Linked DNA regions of Homo sapiens: region 1 is linked to region 2. Evidence: promoter capture Hi-C in 16 types of primary human blood cells and fetal thymus (Javierre and others, 2016). All regions are on one chromosome and are shown on one strand. Each heading gives the region's core, a stretch centred on a gene start or on the middle of the fragment in contact. The rest is flanking DNA. Distances are from core to core; before and after follow the strand shown. Region 1 overlaps HMGCR (3-hydroxy-3-methylglutaryl-CoA reductase). Region 2 holds the start of ANKDD1B (ankyrin repeat and death domain containing 1B).

The links. Contacts are between HindIII fragments. The CHiCAGO score rates a contact against its expected background, and 5 or more counts as called.
Region 1: a contact is called between a fragment that was not itself captured here and the fragment with the promoter of ANKDD1B in region 2, in 1 of 17 cell types (endothelial precursors). The highest score is 5.1, in endothelial precursors.

Annotation. Positions count from the first base shown.
Region 1 is chr5:75,348,972-75,355,984 of GRCh38, reverse strand. It overlaps HMGCR (3-hydroxy-3-methylglutaryl-CoA reductase), which reads right to left. Exons shown (of 20, transcript NM_000859.3): 7 at 5,837-5,943; 8 at 5,611-5,727; 9 at 5,036-5,196; 10 at 4,670-4,917; 11 at 4,383-4,561; 12 at 1,288-1,482; 13 at 771-929; 14 at 463-620. Among named protein-coding and RNA genes, the nearest start is that of HMGCR, 15 kb to the right of the region's middle. The HindIII fragment of the contact is 1,380 bases long and covers 3,951-5,330 here.
Region 2 is chr5:75,606,039-75,613,240 of GRCh38, reverse strand. ANKDD1B (ankyrin repeat and death domain containing 1B) reads right to left here and starts at 1,788. Exons shown (of 14, transcript NM_001276713.2): 1 at 1,414-1,788. The coding sequence starts at 1,606. It overlaps POLK (DNA polymerase kappa), which reads right to left. Exons shown (of 15, transcript NM_016218.6): 15 at 3,250-7,202. RefSeq lists enhancers at 681-1,487, 1,488-2,294, 2,295-3,102. The HindIII fragment of the contact is 4,897 bases long and covers 1-4,359 here.

The sequences.
Region 1 (7,013 bases), core at 3,391-5,890, 260 kb after region 2:
AATTATTTCTTAATAAACTTACACAGTTCACATAAAAACAAATGTGTTAGCTTGAACTATACTATGGTTATCATTTGTGTTGATTATGCTACTTTATTAATTTTCTTTATTTGAAGTAAGTCTTATTATACTAATATTTCTCTCCTATTTGAAAAATCTTTTTTTCTAAGACAGTTCTCTCCTAGGCAAAGTAACATCTAATCAAAATTACTAGCTCACACTTTTTTTTTTTTCTTACTAATTTACCTCTGTGGAGCTATTCATTTGAATCAACATTCTTTTTTTCCCCCCAACCAAGCATAAATATTACTCATTTTAAATGAATGGCTTTAAAGTTGATATTCTGTTATGTGCTCTTTAGCAGGTAATATGTTAACAATTATGTTTGGTAATCACAGAAAATGACACTGGTTCTAAAATAAACAAATAGATATAACTGTACATACAAATCCACTCACACACCTGCTAGTGCTGTCAAATGCCTCCTTTATCACTGCGAACCCTTCAGATGTTTCGAGCCAGGCTTTCACTTCTGCAGAGTCACAAGCACGTGGAAGACGCACAACTGGGCCACGAGTCATCCCATCTGCAAGGACTCGGCTGCTGGCACCTCCACCAAGCTACACAGTATATGTTAGAGAAGCAAGCACATGTTACCCAAAAATGCTCATGCTTGACCCAAAAGGTATCACTAATTGTCCTTAAAACTCTTCTCATTGCCTTACTTATGATGTATTTTTAAACTGGCAAATATATAAATGCCAACTTACACCTATTGCTCTGCAGCCTCTATTGGTGCTGGCCACAAGACAACCTTCTGTTGTTGCCATTGGAACCTGAAATTCTTTTTCATCTAAGCAAAGGGGTCCTGCCACTCCAACAGGGATGGGCATATATCCAATAACATTCTCACAACAAGCTCCCATCACCTAAAAGGTAAAGTCAGGCACCAAATGAAAATCTATATAGTAAATGCACAAAATTTTATCTCAGCTTGTCAGTATAACTATCTTCAAACTTAATCCTTTAGTATGTATTCTTTTTAAACAAAATGTTTAATTCACCTTTAAAAAGTGTTTAAAATACTAAAATCTTTGAGTAATGACTATAAAAGCAGGAAATATATTTTTAATTTCTATGACCTACATCATAAGCAGAATAAAAAATTAGGATAAAATGATTTAAAAGGAAAATGTTTTATAAAACTATGTACATATATGAAACTAATCAAGAAAAAAGATTAAAAACATACAAAGCAAATCTCTCTTAATCGAGAAAATAACATACCAAGGAGTAATTATAATCCCTGTAAGGTAGGTACTGGAGAGAAGAAGGTTCTGAAAGCTTCTTGGAAAGTAACTGTCGGCGAATAGATACACCACGCTCATGAGTTTCCATCAGAGTTTCCAACTTGTAGGCTGGGATATGCTTAGCATTGACTAACTGGATGATCTCAGCATCACTAAGGAATTTTGCACCTTTCTAAAGAAATGGAGAAAAAAAATGAAATTGTGGTCAGAGAGAGAGATGAAACAGAAGACTTGAAGGACTGTATTTCATGTTATAAACCATTTAATACAAACAATGCTAAGCTAAAATAATGTAATTTTTAAATTAAATCACTGTAGTTTTTAATTAAAAGATACCTCTGCAAAATAATTCATTTAATGCAAAAAATGCCAAACAAAAATAATATAAATACCGTATCATTAGATTTTACAATACAAAGACAGGCTTGCACTAATACACCATAAAAAGAAAAATAAATGTGAATTTAGCAAGGTTTCAAGTGTGTGTCAGATATAACAGCTATTGTTTAAACTCTAGTAAACTTGCTATTTTTGATATCCTGAACAGGCAATATATTCACATGGTTTAAAAACTAAATATTAAAAGAGATATAACAAAAAGTCTTCATCCCATCCCTGTCTACCATCTGCCCAGTTCTTTGCTACCTACACATAAATAGGTACCACTGTTTCACTGTGTATCCATCCAGAGATGTTTTTAGGCATGATTATAAATATGCATATATATATATATACACGCACACATATGGGTATATATTCACACAAGTGTTGGGCCAAAGGGTATGAACATTTACAATCTTATAAATTTTTATAATTTTTACAAATTTATTAATTTGAATAAACACGGTCCAATTGCCTTCTCACCACCAATGTAAGAAAAGACCTTTCCAGCCTGGGGGCAGTGGCTCACGCCTATAATCCCAGCACTTTGGGAGGCCAAGGCGGGCGGATCACCTGAGGTCCGGAGTTTGAGACCAGCCTGACAAACATGGAGAAACCCCGTCTCTACTAAAAATACAAAATTAGCCAGGAATGGTGGCGCATGCCTGTAATCCCAGCTACTTGGGAGGCTGAGGCAGGAGAATCAATTGAACCCAGGAGGCAGAGGTTGCGGTGAGCCAAGATCATGCCATTGCACTCCAGCCTGGGCAACAATAGCAAAACTCCTTCTCAAAAAAAAAAAAACCAAACCAAAAAAAAACCCAAAAAAACAAGAAAAGACCTTTCCCTACAACCTCAATAGAGTATGTTATTAAACTTTGGGATTATTGCCAATCTGATGAGTGAAAATATCTCAAGTACAATTTTAATTTGCATTTCTCTTAGGATGAAGTTAATCACCTTTTCACATTTTTAAGAGCCATATGTACTTTTTTCCTGACAATAGACTGATTATCTGCTCTTTTTAAAAATTAGATAAAAATTTAGTCTCATCAATTTGTAGGAGCTCTTTATATATTAGAGATTAGCCCTTTAGCCTTAAATATAAATTGCCAATATTTTCTCTTGGTTTATTAGCTGTCTCTTGACTCTGCTTGTGGTGGTGATATACATACATACACATACACACACACACACTCACAATCACCACCCTCCACAAAACTGGTACCAGTAATTCCATTTTGTGGGTTTATTCAAGGATCTTCTTTGCAAACACTAATATTAGCCTAATTTTTCAAAAGAATAGTAAGATAAACATTAGCTGGTTTATGTATTATCAATGCAAATTCATTCATTCTCTTAGTAAGTTTACTGAGCACCTATGAAATCCAAGGCCCTCTCAAGACATGGACTTAGCCATCTAAGAGCCCGATGTCTAATAATGGAGATATTCATGTAAATGTGATATAAGCAACAAGGTACGACTGCCATTAAAAATGCACAGTCTCTATATAATGGATGCTTCAGAAAAGAAAGGTTACTTCTGTTTGGCGGAATTGAGGTAGGTTTCATAGAGATGCTAGCATTTGCCCTAAAGGTGTGAACACCTGGAGAGGGGGAGACATGTCAGATGACAAGAATAGGAACCCAGAGTTGGGAACTGTATTTAAAGAACAATGACTAAGTTTAGCTAAAAAGCATATGATTGAAGAATGCAGGCCGGGCATGCAGTGGCTCATACCTGTAATCCCAGCACTTTGGGAGGCCAAGGCAGGCAGACCACTTGAGGCCAGGAGTTTGAGACCAGCCTGGCCAACATAGTGAAATCCCATCTCTGCTAAAAACACAAAAATTAGCCAGACATGGTGGCGCATGCCTGTAATCCCAGCTACTCGGGAGGCTGATACACAAGAATCGCTTGAACCTGGGAGGTGGAGGTTGCTGTGAGCCAAGATGGTGCCACTGTACTCCAGCCTGGGTGACAGAGTGACACTCTGTCTCCAAAACAATAATAATAATAATAATAATAATAATAATAAAATAAAATTTTGTCAAGTATACCTCAATAAAGCTGGCAAAAAATTGCATTTTACCAATAAACGTATTAACATATATTTAAAAGAAAGAACCATATTAAGCAGACATGGATGGAACATGATTATTTGCATGAAAGCATGAGTAGATTCATATGGTCATGTAGGCAGAAGGTCCTGTTCAAATGTCAGAAAGAAAAGCAAACTTCCTCATGGGTATCAAGCTTACAAAACAAAACAAAAACAAACTTTCTTCTATCTTTGAAACTTGTCTCTGTGTTAAACTCTTTCTAGGCCTCAACACACCTATGAGAATACAGTAGTCACTCATCTCTATGATAAACAGTAATAAACTAGAAAGAGTTTTGACTCTGGAGTCAGAAAATCTTGGACCCTGCTATCAGCTTTATCATTTCCTAGAGGTACTACTTTGGGAAATTAAACATATTGGAGCCTCAATGTTCTCATCTGAAAAATAGATAATTGTACCTACCTCTCAAGGTTGTGTGAAATAAAGAAAGAAGATAGTATCTGTTAGTCATGTTACACCGTGCCCAGAACTTAGCTGTAGTGTTCAGCAGATACTAGATTTTTCTTCCTTGAAAAAGCTCCTTTGTAATGAAAAATGCCACATTGGAGTTTATGTTATCATCCTCACCTCTGCATTCCCAAGTATCTGTAGACATTCTTCATTAGGCCGAGGTTCCCTGGGAAGTTCAATTTCAGGTTCCTGTGTCACCAGTACTGATGAAGTATCGAGTAAGGAGGAGTTACCAACCACAAATGTAGCTCTGTTTGGGGTATCTGTTTCAGCCACTAAGGGTTTTATAACCTCAACTGTTCAAGAAATCAAAAGAAATCTCACAACACGGCACATAATTTTGAAAACAGACTACTTTTTGACAAAGCAATGAAGGATTGAAAGCGAAGAGAATAACAAGTTACCTTTTCTTTCTCGGTTTATCCCTGTCTCTTCCTCTACTGAATCACATTTCTGGTTATTTCTGACCAGCATAGGTTCACGTCTACAACAATTGTCTGGGACTTTCTTTTGTGTCACTACAGGAGATGTGATAGGGTTTTTTAATGAGAGTGTAGATTCTGTCTCTGTTTGTTCAAAGAAGATGTACTTGACAGCCAGAAGGAGAGCTAAACTTAGGGTAATAACTTGTTCAATATCCATGCTGATCATTCTAAATAAAAGAAAGCAAATTAAAATCTTATTCAGAAATGTAAAGGACACAATCTAAACTTACATTAGCATAGAGTGTTATGATTAATATATCACAAAGTAGATTTCAATTAACTTACTTAGAGAGATAAAACTGCCAGAGGGAAACACTTGGTTCAATTCTCTTGGACACATTTTCATCCAGTCCTAATGAAACCTTAGAAGTATCTGCTGTACTGTTTTGAGGAGAAGGATCAGCTATCCAGCGACTGTGAGCATGAACAAGAACCAAGCCTAGAGACTGAAATAAAATTTTTAAAGTAATGTATCCTCTGCATATCAATAGAACTTAAATTTCTTATCCCTAGCAACTGGACAGCCAGACATTATCTCTCATAGCTTCCCCTTACCATGAAAAAAAAAAAGCCCCAAGCTTGCTATGCAACTAACTAAAGTAGTGACCCCACTGAACTACTGAAAACACCCCAAAGAACAGGCTTTCAACGAGAGATAAGGTGGGGGAACTTAAAAAGTCTGTTTAGGAGAGAGGGGCTAATAAAGACCAGGAGCCTCAAAGAAATGAACACATTAAGAAAAAAAGGAAGAAGGGGGTGCAATATCATTGAATGGGCCAAAATTGTAGAAAAAAAGAAATCTTAAAAATAATGAGATTGGAACTGAGGATACTAAAAGAAGAAGAAAACCATGTCATTACCATAATCATCTTGACCCTCTGAGTTACAGGATTCGGCTTATTTTCTTCTTCTTCTAAAACTCGGGCAAAATGGCTGAGCTGCCAAATTGGACGACCCTCGCGGCTTTCCCGAGAAAGCTACAAATTAAGTCAGTGTGACATTAGAAGGTATTGATTCTGTTTAGGTAAACTGTGTAAGCAGAAATCTTACTCTTCTACTAGTGCCATATGTAAGAATTGGTCTTACCTCTAATACCAAGGACACACAAGCTGGGAAGAAAGTCATGAACACGAAGTAGTTGGCAAGAACTGACATGCAGCCAAAGCAGCACATAATTTCAAGCTGACGTACCCCTGGTTAGAGAAAAATTAAAGATACAACTAGTAAAGTCTACGTTATTTTTTATGCTGCATATATCACAAGGATATATTTGTCTTCCTGCAGGTGGACAAAACATGAAAATATTAGTACATTAAGCTCCTTGCCACTTACTGGAAATAGAATTAGCAACTTAGAGGTGATGCCAAGCCTTAGGAAACAGCAGGAATAACAACAGAACTCTAAGTCCCTCAAGAGCAAAGCTCTTGCCTTCTCTCATGTCCCCATATCACAATGCCAGGCAGAATGGTAGTGTTTAATACACAATTGATAAAACATATGTGTTTCCAATTCCTTTTTGTCAAGCAGTAGTGCCTTATTATTAAATAAGGAGAGGACAGGCTACTCTAACAGAGCAAAACCCCAGTGACACTATTGATCTAATCCCACTTGTTAGGAGAAAAGCAATTTGCCAATTAACCAAGGATTTTTTATATAAGTAGAATATCCTGCCAGTTATGCCAGTCCTGATATAAGGTCAAAATAATATTTTTTGTGTACCAACAAACTCTAATTTCAATATAACCTCTATGATGCCTACTGAAGTTCTTATAATTTTGGTTATTTCATTGATCTGTTTGGAAAATGATATAATACAAAATGCCAACTTAAGACTAAAAATTAACAAACATATTGTACTACAACTGTTTAAGGTATCATTTGGTGATCTCAAATAGAAAACAGAATTATAGAGGCTAGAAGAGACCTTAGATGACCACCAAATCCTTCTCCCTCACTTTACAAATAAACTTGAGTATAATATAAAACATATTTCTGATGTCGCTCAAACATAACAATGCTTTGAAACACAAATTTGAATTGTCCTATAAAAACTGCTCACAAAAACTCAAAGTTTTATTTTATTACCTACATTTTAAGATATAATTTGACTGACTAGAACAAGCATATATTGTATTTTTTTAATTCCCAATGCTTTGAAACATAAATTTAAATTGTCCTATAAAAACTGCTCACAAAAACTCAAAGTTGTATTTTATTACCTAAATTTTAAGATATCATTTGACTGACTAGAACAAGCATATAT
Region 2 (7,202 bases), core at 539-3,038:
TTTTTCAACTTTCCATTACCCCAAACTTAAGTATTCTATAATTGCTGTCTCCATTTCTTCATCTCACAGTCTTGTCTCAACCCATGCTAATCAGACATCTTTCCCACCCCTCTACTGAAACTGCTCTTGTTGAGGTCACTCCGCCTTGCCAAAACCCAGTCATCATACCTCCGTCATGTGCATTGAGCTCTTGGCAACTTTGACACAGAGGAACACACACTCCATGTAACATGTTCTTCTCTAGAGGTCTGGTAAACCAACTTTCGCTTTCTAGTCTTTTCTACTGGCTCTTTTTCCTTTGCTTGATCTCCAACTATTAGAATGCCCTAGGGTTTATATAAAACAAATAATCTGTTGATGTAGGCATGATTCCTCCATTTTACAGATGAGGAAACTGAGATCTTCAAAAGTTATACCACTTGCTCATGCTTTGTAAGTTATAGAATTGTCCCAGGCAGCCTGACTCCAACCACATTACCCTGTCTCATGGCCTTCACTGCACTTACCTTAAATTATCTTATTCATTTATTTGCGTACTTATTTTATTGTCTATCACCCCTCCACCACAACAGAATGTTCCACCAGAACAGGGGTTGTCTTGTTCTCTCCAACCCTACATCTAGAACATGCCTAGCAAATAGTTAAGCCCTTGAAAATAGTTCTAGAATGACTGAATGAACACTATATTGATGAATTGGTGTATAGCTTCCAAGCCTGGTTTAGGAAATAAGGCCGTCCCAGCCAGTAGGCTTGGATGGTGTGCCCCGTTAAGAGGCTTGAGTACTGGGAAGGCTGAGGTGGGAGGATCACCTGAGCCTGAGGAGGTCTGTGATTGCACTACTGCCTTCCAGCCTGTGCAACAGAGCAACAAGACCCTACACGCGGGGCGGAGGGCGGGGGCGGGGCGGAGGGCGGGGGGGGGCGGGGGCAGACTTAAATCGCTTTCAGCTTTCGAACTGCTTAACAGCTGCCTCAGTTTATGCTACACATTATTCCCAAGGCATAGATGATCCACTCCATGCTTTAAAAACTTAAGTGCAGAAAGATTAAGTGACTGACTTATTTAAAGTCAGACAATAAATCGGAGCATGAGTCACGATATAGGAGATAAGAGCACATGAAACTCTTATTTGCAAAAGGACTTAATCATTATTTTTAAAAGCCTCCTCCTTAATTCGGAAGAATAATACTGTCCTTCCACCCACAGTACATGGTGGGGGTGGATTCCAAAGCTGAAAACCAGCCAACAGGGAGTGCAGCGGTGCAGGCTGGGACTCGGGGTCCCAGGGCTGAGTCGCCTCGCCAGTTTCCCTCCTGCAGCGTCCGGAGGTGCTGCTCTGGGTACCTTCTCAAGTCCCTTCGACCCAGCCCGCCCCGCAGCCTGATTTTCTGAGACCTCGTCCCGGGACTCACGGAGCTCGTGTCCGGCAACTGCTGTGTCCTCCTCTCCAAGACCCTCCCGCTTCGGGATCCGGGACAGGCTCCTCCAAGGCAGGGCGGCCGCGCCCCACAGGTCTTCCCTGAGACCCTTGGCGGCCGCAGCAGCCCGGAGCAGCAGCCCCCCTGCCGTGGCCCCTTGGCCCCGGGCGCGCCCGGCGGGGTCCATAGTCTCCTCCGCGGGCCCTGAGCGCAGGGCCAGACCCAGACTCGGACCCAGATCCAGACCCAGACTCGGACACAGATCCAGACCCAGGCAGGCCCAGGGCGCGGGGGCTGGACGCAGGCAGGTCAGCCCGGCCGGAGCGCAGGATCGAGTCCGCTCTCTGTTGTGGCGGTTCGCTGGGCAACAAGCCCCTAGTTTCCAGCCCTGCCCTGACTTGGGCTGGCCTGGGATAATCCGCCCTCAGGTGTGGCGTGCACAGTGCTAAGGTTTGGTTCTCTGGAAAATAAAACATCCAGCGACCATCGAGAACGGGCCATGATGACAATGGCGGTTTTGTCGAATAGAAAAGGGGGAAATGTGGGGAAAAGAGAGAGAGATCAGATTGTTACCGTGTCTGTGTAGAAAGAAGTAGAAATAGGAGACTCCATATTGTTCTGTACTAAGAAAAATTCTTCCGCCTTGGGATGCTGTTAATCTATAACCTTACCCCCAACCCCGTTCTCTCTGCAACATGTGCTGTGTCAACTCAGGGTTAAGTGGATTAAGGGCGCTGCAAGATGTGCTTTGTTAAACAGATGCTTGAAGGCAGCATGCTCGTTAAGTCATCACCACTCCCTAATCTCAAGTACCCAGGGACACAAACACTGCGGAAGGCCGCAGGGACCTCTGCCTAGGAAAACCAGAGACCTTTGTTCACGTGTTTATCTGCTGATCTTCTCTCCACTATTATCCTATGACCCTGCCACATCCCCCTCTCCGAGAAACACCCAAGAATGATCAATAAATACTAAAAAAAAAAAAAAAAAGAATAAGCAGAGAAATTGGGGAGGGTATTCAAAGCTGAACAACTAATGGTCCAAGGATATCACTATCACTATCATTAACACATGCTTTAGTCACCAGGAACTGCCAATTTTACTTCTCAAATCTCTTAATTACATCTGCTTCTCCATTTTTATTTCCATTGCCATCATTGCTTGTCACTGAATTTATTGTAATAACTTCTTCATAAGAATTTATTGTAATACCTTCTTCATAAGAATTTGTTGTTAGATGGATTTATTGTCTGTTGCTACATTTCAGGCACAGAATTAAGCACCTTTTGCACAGCCTCACTTAATTCTGAGGTATGGTGTATTCTATTATTAGCCCCGTTTGATAGAAAAGGATTCTGAGGCTTGAAGACGTTGGTGGAAGAAACAGAACTTGCCCCTAACGAGCATGACTTCTAAGAATGTGTTGTCAAGGGCGTGACTCACTCACCTTGCTCTACAGCAGGGGGTCACTTTGCTCCATCCCCAGGCCAAATCCCGCTGCTGCCTGTTATTGTAAATAAAATTTGTTTTAACACATTAAAAAAAAAAATTCCTGCAAAATCTACAAGCCCCAATGAACTCCCAGCTCTACTCTACCACTTCTTTGTATAATTTTGAGAAATGTCAAGGTTGAATTTATAACTAACACTATAGGAACTTCAATATTAAATCATTTCTAAATGGGCTTCCAACATTTTCTTTTGAATAAAGTAAGACTTGATTTCTCATTTGAAGACCATGAATTTTAATCTTTCCTGGCGGATTCTTTTGAAAAGTGAAATAATACAGAAGCAAGTCAAATTCTGACCCCCCAAATAAACTTCAAATAAGAAAGGTAATCAGGTTTTCATTTATTTATTCTTCTTACAAATTTACAAAAGATGTATCATTTTAATGTAAATTATGTAATATCAATGTTCATTTCAAACTTGTCAGTTTTTCCCTTCAAATTATTGTGCACCAAATTTGAGGCATTAAATTCAAAACAATGTTTCCTAATCAATGAAAAAACAAACATGACAAAATATTATTTATTTTATCAGAACACCGCCCATAACCTCAAACTTTCCTCTTTTAAAAAAGGGAAATGGGCCTAATGTTTGTAATAGAGATATGATAAAAACAATAGCAGGTAAGTTGAATTGAGTATTATGCAGAAATATCAGACAATGTACTAATATGGAAAGTATAATATGTAAATGGAAAAACAGGGCACCAAATTATATGTATATGTAGCATGTTTACAAGTAAAATTCTAAAAATCAAAAGAAAATACCCACACAAAAGAAGGAATAATAGTGAAAACAGCAGCAGATCAATGGAAAGCATACAGCCAAGTACAGAAAAATCTCCCAGTCTGGGTAACAAAGTGAGACCCCCTCTCTACAAAAATTAGCCAGGCATGGTGGTGCATGCCTGTAGTCCCAGCTACTTGGGAGGCTGAGGTGGGAGGATGGCTTCAGCCTGGGAGGCAGAGGTTGCAATGAGCCAAGATTGTGCCACTGTGTGCCAGTCTGCGTGATAGAGCCAGACCCTATCTCAAAAAAAAAATTTTTTTTTAATATAAATAAAAAATAATTTTAAAAAAAGATCTGAATTGTGTTATCCAAGTTTGAAACTGCTTTCAAATTCTAAACCAAGAAATTTACTTTTAAAAAAATCCTCTTATCAATGACAGGAGAAAATGCATCATCATTTTATGCTATATAGCCTTATAATAGTATGTGGTACTTATCTTACTCTAACAGATGAGACAAAAACTCCAAAGCAGTGCATTATGTGAAACTTAGCCATAGCTGGACTTTATTTCCCTGACAGCTTGGGCTAAATAAGAAGCTATGAAGTATACTGTGGGAGGTATTTTCTTTTTCACTCTGTTTCAAATATCAGGTTAGTTCTCAAGCAGAATATTAATTCTAAGCGTGCTAATACATAAAAGCTTGCCCACATGATCTGGCCCTACTCATCTCTCTGATCTTGGGCCCTACAATTCTTCTCCATTCTTCATCCACTGTTTCCTGGTGGAGAGCCATCAGCTTCTATTTCCTCCCTTTGCCTAGAACTTCTCTCCCCCACCTCCACTTCCGAATTTTTAAAATAGTTTTGATCCTTCGTATCATTAAGGTTTCAGGTTAAATGTCACTTCCTCAGAGGAGCCTTCTCGGATCATCTTATTCTAAAAGTGTCCCCTACCTTCATGTTCCATTCCCTTATGCTGTTGTCTCTTTCCTTTGTAACACTTACCACTGAAATGTCTATTTGTTTAGTGTCGGTTTCCACAACTAGAATGTAAACTTCATAAATACAGTGATTTTTAAAACTTTGTTGGGCCAGGCGTGGTGTCTCATGCCTATAATCCCAGCAATTTGAGAGGCCGAAGTGGGAGGATGGCTTGAGGCCAGGAGTTTGAGGCCAACCTGGGCAACTTAGTGAGACTCCAGTCTCCACAAAAAATTTAAAAATTAGCTGGTGGTGGTGGGGCAGACCTGTAGTCTTAGCTACTTGGGAAGCTGAGATGGGAGTATGGCCTGAGCCACGGAGGTCAAGGCTGCAGCAAGCTGTTATCATGTCACTGCATTCCAACCTGGGTGACAGAGCAAGACTCTGTCTCAAAAAAAAAAAAAATTAATTAAGTTTCTTACTGCATCTCCAGTGGCTAAAACAGTACCCGACCTGCAATAAGTATTTGTCAAATAAATATGGAATGCAATTTAGCCATGGGAACAGTAACTTGTCTTTGAGTCCTGAAAGCTTTAAGTTTTTCCCCTAAAGGTCTAGACTAAAAAAATATGTTCAATTCTGAAGTAAACCTTTAAAACCAGGTCCTGTTCAAGGATTCCATATTTTTAAAAACATCTTCCTAGATTTCTCTTTGCCCTCCTCTACCAGACGATTTCTCCCTAGACTCCCACTTTGTATATTCATCTATTATAGCCCTCCCTACATTGAATAGAAACTGTCCCTGGGGTGGCTCTCCATTTTTTGAGGACAAACATGTCTTAATAATCTTTATGTCCTTTATCAGCTAGGATTCAGCTATAATTAATAGGAAAACCCAAGTAACTATGGCTTAAACAATTTTTTAATTTGTTTCTTGTGAAAGTCTCAAAGTGTGCAGGCCAGTGCTGATATGTCTCTGTTTTACAAAGCCCCAAGAATCAGCCCCTGCAGCCCACTACTCTACCATCCCCCTGTGCAACCCTTATGTTCAGGTGTAAACGGCAGCATCTGCTTCCAGGCAGCAGGATGGAACAGAGAAATAGAAAGAAGAGGCAAACAGAATGCTACAGCTGCAAGAAAGGAAGGTTCCCAGAAGCAACCACACACAGTACTTCCTTTTTTTTTTTTTTTTTTTGAGACAAGGTCTCGCTTTGTCACCCAGGTTGGAGTGCAGTGGTGCAATCTCAGCTCACTGCAACCTCCGTCTCCCGGGTTCAAGCGATTCTCTTGCCTCAGCCTCCTGAGTAGCTGGGATCACAAGTGTGTGCCACCACGCCCAGCTACTTTTTTGTATTTTGAGTAGAGACGGGGTTTCACCATCTTGGCCAGGCTGGTCTCGAACTCCTGACCTCAGGTGATCCACCCGCCTTGGCCTCCCAAAGTGCTGAGATTACAGGCGTGAGACACCGCACCCGGCCAGTACTTCCTTTTATATCCCATTAGTCAAAACTCAGTCACATGGCTACCCCTAGCTGGGAGGGTGTGAGCTTCAAGGATGGGAGATACATTGTAGTCATCAATTCTGTAACACCTATTTTTCACATTATCACATCTTTTTAATTGAGATACTAAGTTGTCTGCCTGAATTGAAGTTGAGTTCTTCCATAGAGGATTTGCATATGCTTCTGCCAGTCACTAGGGGCAATACTAACCTCACTTTAATTACATTTTCTGCTTGAGCTCTTTAGGATGATACCATTTGTGTGAATTCAGATTACAAGCCTACATGTGTACTGGTTTATGGTTCAAATTCTCACTGGCAGTCCCTCCTTCCAACCAGTGCCAAGGCTGAGCATGCAAATTGCTTTGCTGTGGGGAAAAGCAAGAGAGATCAGATTGTTACTGTGTCTGTGTAGAAAGAAGTAGACATAGGAGACTCCATTTTGTTATGTACTAAGAAAAATTCTTCTGCCTTGAGATTCTGTGACCTTACCCCCAACCCCGTGCTCTCTGAAACATGTGCTGTGTCAACTCAGAGTTGAATGGATTAAGGGCGGTGCAGGATGTGCTTTGTTAAACAGATGCTTGAAGGCAGCATGCTCCTTAAGAGTCATCACCACTCCCTAATCTCAAGTACCCAGGGACACAAAAACTGCGGAAGGCCGCAGGGACCTCTGCCTAGGAAAGCCAGGTATTGTCCAAGGTTTCTCCCCATGTGATAGTCTGAAATATGGCCTCGTGGGAAGGGAAAGACCTGACCGTCCCCCAGCCCGACACCCGTAAAGGGTCTGTGCTGAGGAGGATTAGTAAAAGAGGAAGGAATGCCTCTTGCAGTTGAGACAAGAGGAAGGCATCTGTCTCCTGCCTGTCCCTGGGCAATGGAATGTCTCGGTATAAAACCCGATTGTATGCTCCATCTACTGAGATAGGGAAAAACCGCCTTAGGGCTGGAGGTGGGACCTGCGGGCAGCAATACTGCTTTGTAAAGCACTGAGATGTTTATGTGTATGCATATCTAAAAGCACAGCACTTAATCCTTTACATTGTCTATGATGCCAAGACCTTTGTTCACGTGTTTGTCTGCTGACCCTCTCCCCACAATTGTCTTGTGACCCTGACACATC